Linked DNA regions of Homo sapiens: all the other regions are linked to region 2. Evidence: promoter capture Hi-C in human tissues and cell types (Jung and others, 2019). All regions are on one chromosome and are shown on one strand. The core of a region is centred on a gene start or on the middle of the fragment in contact, and the rest is flanking DNA. Distances in the headings are between cores, read along the strand shown.

Region 1 (2,700 bases), core at 52-2,551, 1.4 Mb before region 2:
CTCTGTGCCAACAGCTTCCTTTTTATTCATCACTTAGTGTTGTAGTGGAGTCGTGGATTAGAATGCTGATGGACATGAAATGTTTTGACTTTAATTATTAACTGGCTAGTTTTTTTGGCAGGTTGAATGACTAGGGGAATTAGGACAAAGTAACAAGTGAGCCAGCTTAGAAATTGGCATCATAGGTGTAGAGTGTGTTTAATATTTTCCAGGTTATACAAACAAGTGTCCTTTTCATTAATACAGGAACCAATTCAGTATGTTCATGATGTCATTGAATTTTATAAGGTGGAAAAATACTTTTCAGGTAATTTAATAGAATATGTGGCACTTAGACCTTTTATTCCTTGTGGAGTAACTTTGAAACCTGATAATGTCTAGAGATACATTGAAGTGATTGTAGCTTAATATTCTGGGGTAAGCTAGTGTTGATGAATATAGAGTTTAAACTGTAACCTTTTTTACTTGGCTCTGAATAGATTATAGTGTCACTATTTTATTATTTCCTTCATTTCTCTTTTAGAAGAAGAAGATGGAGTGTGGGAGAATGGACTTTCCTATGAATGCCGTACTCTGCTTTTCAAAGCAGTTCACAATCTATTGGAACGGTGTTTAATGAACAGGAATTTTGTACGTATTGGCAAGTGGTTTGTAAAGCCTTATGAAAAAGATGAAAAACCTATAAATAAAAGGTAAGCTATCTTAAATTCTGACGTGATATTTCTTTAGATTTGTTCCTTTTTGTGTCTTAACAGAGAATGTGGGATAAAACAAGCTAATATACAGACATATTCCAGAGGTTGTCAGTGACAGAGTACTAGATACAGTCAGGTTTTTTTTTTTTTTAAACCACTTTACAAACTTCCCTTTATACACTTTAAGCATTTTCTTACTGTAGGAATAGGCTGTATTTTAATACAGTGGCCTAAATTTTGATTTGTGATGATAGACTTAATGTGGGATGAAAGCAGAGACTTAGGCTTGGAAGTATCTTTTTTTTAGTATTTGTGGAAATATATGCACAGCACTCTGATATTAAAATTAAGTAACAACACCTGTTAAGGATAGTGATCTGTGAGTATGTTTTGGATCAAGTTAACCCTTCTTATTCCCAATCTCTCAATTCCCTTTAATTAAAGTAATTTAAATTTGTGTTTTCTATATAAGACCATTTACTCTTTGAGAGCTTATAATTTTCTTGAGCAATGAATTAAGCAAATTTATGACACTACTTATTAGACTAGTTGCAGATAGAGGCACAGAAGACTTATGATAGATACCTCCTTCTCCTATGCAATTAAAACCTTCAGGTTACTCGCTTCTCCGTGATTTAGATAATATAAGGCATAGTCTCTCAAAAGATTTAAGTTCCCAGCAGTCATTGAGTTAGTGAGACTTCAAGAGAGATGAACCAGTGGCAAGTAAGTTGGGATGTGGGGAAGAGAAAACTAAAGGGAACTTACTAATTTTTCCTGAAAGATGTGAGAGGATGTGAAGTGAACATTTGGTTGAGATTGTAATCATTTTGAGGTCTTTGATGTCATATATGCACATCTTTTTTCATGTGCACCTGGAGTTTTTGTTTGTTTGTTTTTTCAAACTTTTTAGTTTTAGTAAGACTGGATGAGTAGATAAGCCTGGATAAATAAAGGTGCTTTCATTTTTTTTCCTCTTTGAAAATTAACGTAAACCTTTATTGTTAACAAAATACTTGTGTAAGTTCAGAATGCATTCAGCTGGAAATGACAGAACAACATTAACTACTTGGCTTATGTAGGGATTGATTTTTCTCAGTAGCAAGCAGTATGGAGGTCGATAGTTTAGTACTGGTATAGCTGTTCAATAATGTCATCAAGGATTCAAAGTTCCCCAGAGTTTTCTCTGTGCCATTTTTACATCTTCATGGTCCTCCCGTGTGTTGCACCTCCAGACCTCACAGTGGATTCCAGGCAGGAAGAGAAAGGAAGGGAGGAAGTAAGGAAGGTGTGGCACCTGAGTCAGAAAGTAAATTATTTTCTGGAAACTTTAGTTGACATATCTTTGGCCATACTAAGAGAAACAAATATCTTTTATTTGGAAACAGCTGCTCTGAACAAATGAAGTTTTTGTTAGTAAGAAGAAAGGGCTGATAGATATTAGATAGATACCAAAGATCAAAGAAGTGGAAATGGATATTGGGTAGGCAGTTAACAATATCTGCCATATACATTTATTTATTTATTTTGAGACAAAGTCTCACTCTGTTGCCCAGGCTGGAGTGCAGTGGTGCAATCTCAGCTCACTGCAACCTCTGCTTCCCAGGTTCAAGTGATTCTCCTGCCTCAGTCTCCCAAGTAGCTGGGATTATAGGCGTGTGCCACCACACCTGGCTAATTTTGTGTATTTTTAGTAGAAACGGGGTTTTGCCATGTTGCCCAGGCTTGTCTTGAACTCCTGAGCTCAGGCAATCCACCCGCCTCGGCCTCCTAAAGTGCTGGGATTACAGGCGTGAGCCACTGCTCCCAGCCAGGCATATAGATTTATGTAGTTTTAAGAAGTCAAACAGATTACCAAGATTTAAAATGAAAGGCTGCAATCCTGAGCCCCAATGAATAGATTTGCTCCTCAGAAGCAGCCCTTTTTAATTCTTCTGTTTCTTTTAAGTTACCTGTTTAAAAATTTTGAAAGACATAACATGCTTATTCTTGAGTTATCATTTAG
Region 2 (2,700 bases), core at 59-2,558:
CCGCCTCCCAGGCTCAAGCAATTCTCCTGCCTCAGCCTCCTGAGTAGCTGGGATTACAGGCGAGCGCCACCATGCCGAGCTAAATTTTATATTTTTTTGTAGCGACGGGGTTTCACCATGTTGCCAAGGCTGGTCTCGAACTCCTGAGCTCAAGCAATCCATCCGCCTTAGCCTCCCAAAGTGCTGGGATTATAGGCTTGAGCCACCGCGCCCATCCTGTTTTGTTTTTTAATAGGACCAGGTCTCAGAACCACAAAACAATGTAAGGAAGACTCCTGCTGTACCCCTTGGTCTGTTGTTAACATAAATTACAAGGGTGAGAGAACCAGATCATGGGATGGGAATTTACTGCAATTTTATGTTGAGATAGTGAAAATACACATGGTACAATATTTCAAGACCAAACGGAACAAGTGACATGATATCACTCTACCTTCCAATTAAACCTGTTGGGAATCTATGAGTAAATCACAATTTAAATCACATTCGTAACCCCCTGCTACTATAACAAATAAGTCAAGTAATTATTTGACTAGTAGCAAGTAGTCAAATAACTAACATAAACTAATACGTTGTTACAGCCCTTTACCCTTTCCCGTCACATCAGTAAATCCTGATCCTAGAATGTTTCATGACCCTCTGAATCACTGAGATTTTAAGAGCATGGAGTCGGCTTGGTTAAGGTTAAAAGAGGACTGACAGCAATATCAAAGATCTCTTACAGGGCTCAGGGAAGCCCACAACCTGGAACTCATCTTGAAGGCACCGAAAACCATTTTTAAGTAGGGAGCATTCACACCTGATGTGAAAACTCTAAACCTGTGCGCCCCACCTCCTACAACCAAAACACCCTCTGCCCCAAGGAGCAGAGCCACCACCTCCTCAGAGGATACCTGCACCTCCAGCCCCTCAGCCCTCTCATTCTCATCCCATTCTTGCTTTCTCGAACCACAGTCTCCCAAGCCCTGCCCTTTAAGGGCCCTGTCTCCTGGGGACGACCCTCGCCAGCCACTCAGGCCCCAGTCTCCTGAAAGACACTCGTACGGCGCTGCCCACTTAACCTCCAACACGGAGCCACCGCTGCCCCCGGCCGCCCTCCGGCCCCTTGCACTGTTCCCCTCCCCCTCCAGTATCGACACCTCTCTCCTGTCGAATTCCTGCCAGCCCGACCCAGTCCCCTCACGCCGCCAGTCCCTCGTCCTCCCCAAGCCTCCCCAAAGCCAAAGCCCTGCCAGCCCTCTCACCGGCCGCCCCGCCGGTTAACGCTAGTCTCCAGCTCTAGGCTCACTGTTTGGAGTCTCCCCGAGTGATTGACGGCAGCCACTTCCTACCACGCCTCAGCGGAACCACCCCCTCTAGCCAATCCCAGAAGCAAACCGGCTATGGCCGGGCACCGCCCTTGGAGGTCAGCTTCGCCAACCAGCAAGTAGGAAAGAGGCGGACCCGCCTTCTGAATGTGTCCAATCCGCTGGGGCTGGAGGGAAAACACAACAGCATGTAAGTTCGGGTGAAGCCGAGGTGTCAGGTTCGGTTGCAAACGCAGGCAGCTGGGGAATAATTACGAACATGTACATTTTTTTTGGAAGACAGAACCTTCGTGGCTTTGAAAAGAAAAGCAACATGATCCAGACTCCTGTCCCGCTCACGTGAGCGTTTCAGGTTGGAGCCGGAGGACAGGGAGACTGGTCTGTTTACATCGAATTCTCGCGACAGCTGGTTCCAAGCTCGGAGCACGTGGACATGGCAGCTGCCAATCACTTTTAGCTGGCCACTCACCCGTCCCACACCCGCCTTCTGCCCAGCCCTTGGCGATGTGTTTACCTTCCGGGAGCCTAGGCTGGCTCGCGCCGGCGATCAGCCGAGGAGGGGTTGATCTGAATAAGGGGCACGGCCGGTAATCTCAACAATTTGAGCTAGGTTTGTAGACCACTTCTTGCTTCAGTTTCCATCTCCCTTATTGTTGAAGATCGAGATCTCGCCATTGTCATTTCATCAGTTCATTTATTAATATAAGTAGAATAATACTGACTGACTTCTTGAACACTCAGCACAGGCCTTCGTATACTTCATATACAATACTCTAATGTATTATCAAATTTAATGCCAATGACAGGTCCGTGAGGGTATAGCTTATTAACAGGCGTGGTGGGCTGGGCGTGGTGGCTCACGCCTGCAATCCCAACATTTTGGGAAGCCTAGGCGGGAAGATCGCTTGAGGCCAGGAGTTCTAGAACAGCCTGGACAACATGAAGAAACCCCGTCTCTACTAAAAATAGCCAGGTGTGGTGGCCAATGCCTGTAATCCTAGCTACTGGGGAGGCTGAGGCGGAAGAATTGCTTGAACCCAGGAGGCGGAGATTGCAGTGAGCCTATAGATCACGCCATTGCCCTCCAGCACTTTAGCCTGGGTGACAGAGAGTCCCTCTCAAGACAGATAGATAGATAGATAGATAGATAGATAGATAGATAGATAGATACATACATACATACATACATACATACATACATACATACATACATAAAATTTTAAAAAATTTTAAAAAAAGAAATGAAAGAAAAGGCCGGGCACGGTGGCTCACACCTGTAATCCCAGCACTTTGGGAGGCTGAGAGGGGCAGATCACTTGAGGTCAGGAGGTCAAGACCAGCCTTGCCAACTTTGTGAAACTCTGTCTCTACTAAAAATACAAAAATCAGCGGG
Region 3 (2,700 bases), core at 189-2,688, 1.4 Mb before region 2:
TACAGTATTCTCTTAGTAAAATGACAAAACTGCTAGAAAGCTTAAGGGCATCTTATCAGAAGCTCAAGGTGTGGAGTAGAGCTTACCTGAAAGAGATTTGTGGGTATAACTTTTGTCTAATGAAGTGAACCCCAGTAAGATTCACAGACCTACATGGGTGGTGGGGTGGTATTTCAGAATTAAAATGGGCCAGTTACTCCTTGGCACCTGCCATTTCCCCCCCTTTTTGAAAAGGAATAACTAAGCCTCTATCCTGCTACACCTGTCTCATCGTTGTATGTTGGGTATATAGAGGGGAAGATAAATTGTCTCTTCGGTGTCACAGGTGGAGAGGAACTGTACTCAAGGAGCTCTGCTTAAGGAGTTTTACCCGAGGAGCCTCATCTGCACCTGGACTTCAAGCTGATGCTGTAAAGAGGGGAGACTTTTGGTGACTTTGGGAAGAAGTGAGTGTAACTTGCATGTGGGAGCAACAAATCATTGGGGACAGATGGTGGACTGTGGTAGCTACCCTCCAAAATAGCTCCCTATTATTATTATTATTATTTTTTTTTTTTGAGACAGGGTCTCACTCTGTCACCCACCCAGACTGGAGTGCAGTGGTGTGATCTCAGCTCACCACAACCTCTGCCTCCCAGGCTCAAGTGATTCCCCTGCCTCAGTCTCCTGATAGCTGGGATTATAGGCGTGCACCACCACTGCCCAGCTAATTTTTGTATTTTTAGGAGAGATGGGGTTTCACCATTTTTGTATTTTTAGTAGAGATGGGGTTTCACCATGTCAGCCAGGCTGGTCTTGAACTCCTGACCTCAAATGATCCACCCTCCTTGGCCTCCCAAAGTGCTGGGATTACAGGCATGAGCCAGCGCGCCCGGCCAGCTCTCAGTTATTTTTGCCTCCTGGTATTCACAGCCTAGTGTAGCCCCTGCACACTCTGTATCACAGTTGGTCTGTGACCAATAGCATGTGGCAGAAGTGATGGTATATAACTTCTGAGATTAGGTTACAAAAAGACTGCAGCTTCCATCTTGGTCTTGGACTCTCTCTGTCTCCCCCTTCTTCTTCCTAGTGGAGAAGCAAGCTGCGTTGTTGTGTGCAGCTCTGAGGAGAAGCCCACCTGGCAGAAGGAAACTGTGTCCTGGCCACAACCGTGTGAGTGAGCTTGGAAGTGAGTGCCTCAGTCCTACGTTAGCCTTGAGAGGCCTGCAGCCCCAGCCCACATCTTGACTGAAACCTCATGAGAAACCCTGAGCCAGAACCACCAGCTGAGTCACTGACAGGTTACTAAATCTCAGGAACTGTGTGAGATAAAATGCTTGTTGTTTTAAGCTGTGATGTTCAGAGATAATGTATTATATGGCAATAGATAACAAACATACTATACCCCAGGAGCCAGGACTGCCCAACAGAGTTGGGACTGTGGAGAGAAGAACTGTTCATTTGCAGTTCGCGCCATAAAGATACAGCCAATACTGAGGCACAGGGAGAGGGAAAATCCTAGCTTCCTCATGGCCCCTCATTTGCCACCCTTGCCTCCATTGGCCAAACCAAACCACAAGGAAATTGATAAGGGAGCCTGAGAAATGTCATTTCCAAGGAGCAGCCTCTAGCTACAGTAAGCCTGGACAACATGGTGAGACCTTGTCTATACAAAAAATTTAAAAAATTAAGTGGGCATGGTGGTGCACGCCTGTGGTCCCAGCTATTCAGGAGGCTGAGGTAGGAGGATTGCTTGAACCCAGGAGGTCGAGGCTGCAGTGAGCCATGTTTGCACCACGGTACTCCAGACTGCACTCTAGTGTGGGTGACAGAATGAGACCCTATCTCAAAAAAAAAAAAGGTCAGTCATGGTGGCTGACACCTGTAATCCCAGCACTTTGAGGGGCTGGGGCAGGCAGATCACTTGAGGTCAGGAGTTGAAGACCAGCCTAGGCAACACGGTGAAACCTTGTCTCTACTAAAAATACAAACATTCAAAAATTAGCCGGGCACGGTGGTGGGCACCTGCAATCCCAGCTACTTGGGAGGCTGAGGCATGAGAATCGCTTGAACCCAGGAGGCAGAGGTTGCAGTGAGCCAAGATCACACCACTGAACTCCAGCCTGGGCGACAGAGCAGGACTCTGTTTCAAAAAAAAAAAAAGAACAGAGGCAAATTAACAGCACAGCCAAGAACTCTTTTACATGGAATTCCCAGTAGCATTCTTCAAAACCTTGTCCTCAAACTCCAGTTTGGGAAACACTAGCCTAAATTGCTCTTTTCCACATCTCTGCAAGTTCCAATCTTATTCATTAATTCGTATCTATTTAAAATGCAAAGTTTTTCTCCACTAACCTTTTCTTCCTTGTGACTTGGGGTAGCCCCCTCTTCTTTCAATTCCACAACATTTGATCTATATCAATTTTTCGCATTTTCAAATAAAAATTGTAGTTATTTATTTCATATCTTATCATCTGAGAATTAAAAATCTTCTTGAGAGTCAGCTCTATTTCTGATGCATTGTTTCATATTGCTCAATCATCACAGTACCTAGCATAGAACCTTGCACATAGTAAACATAAATATTATTAAATGAATGAATGAAGTAATGTCAAAACCAGTGGTAGAAATGTTATATAACTCTAGTACTTTTGTTTATGTTACTATTTATTTATTTATTTAGAGATGGAGTCTTGCTCTGTCACCCAGGCTGAAGTACTG

What was found. The method cuts DNA at HindIII sites, captures the fragments that hold promoters and counts their contacts. A contact is called where the count stands out against the background at its distance.
Region 1: a contact is called between a fragment that was not itself captured here and the fragment with the promoter of BCAS3 in region 2, in 1 of the 25 tissues and cell types used here (lymphoblastoid cells).
Region 3: a contact is called between a fragment that was not itself captured here and the fragment with the promoter of BCAS3 in region 2, in 1 of the 25 tissues and cell types used here (heart right ventricle).

Annotation. Positions count from the first base shown.
Region 1 is chr17:62,050,529-62,053,228 of GRCh38, reverse strand. It overlaps MED13 (mediator complex subunit 13), which reads left to right. Exons shown (of 30, transcript NM_005121.3): 3 at 524-692. Among named protein-coding and RNA genes, the nearest start is that of MED13, 13 kb to the left of the region's middle. The HindIII fragment of the contact is 4,493 bases long and covers 1-2,700 here.
Region 2 is chr17:60,676,459-60,679,158 of GRCh38, reverse strand. BCAS3 (BCAS3 microtubule associated cell migration factor) reads right to left here and starts at 1,308. Exons shown (of 24, transcript NM_017679.5): 1 at 1,245-1,308. RefSeq lists enhancers at 1,267-1,416, 1,587-1,756 and a silencer at 1,175-1,928. The HindIII fragment of the contact is 19,476 bases long and covers 1-2,700 here.
Region 3 is chr17:62,074,015-62,076,714 of GRCh38, reverse strand. No RefSeq gene overlaps it. Among named protein-coding and RNA genes, the nearest start is that of MED13, 10 kb to the right of the region's middle. The HindIII fragment of the contact is 7,334 bases long and covers 1-2,700 here.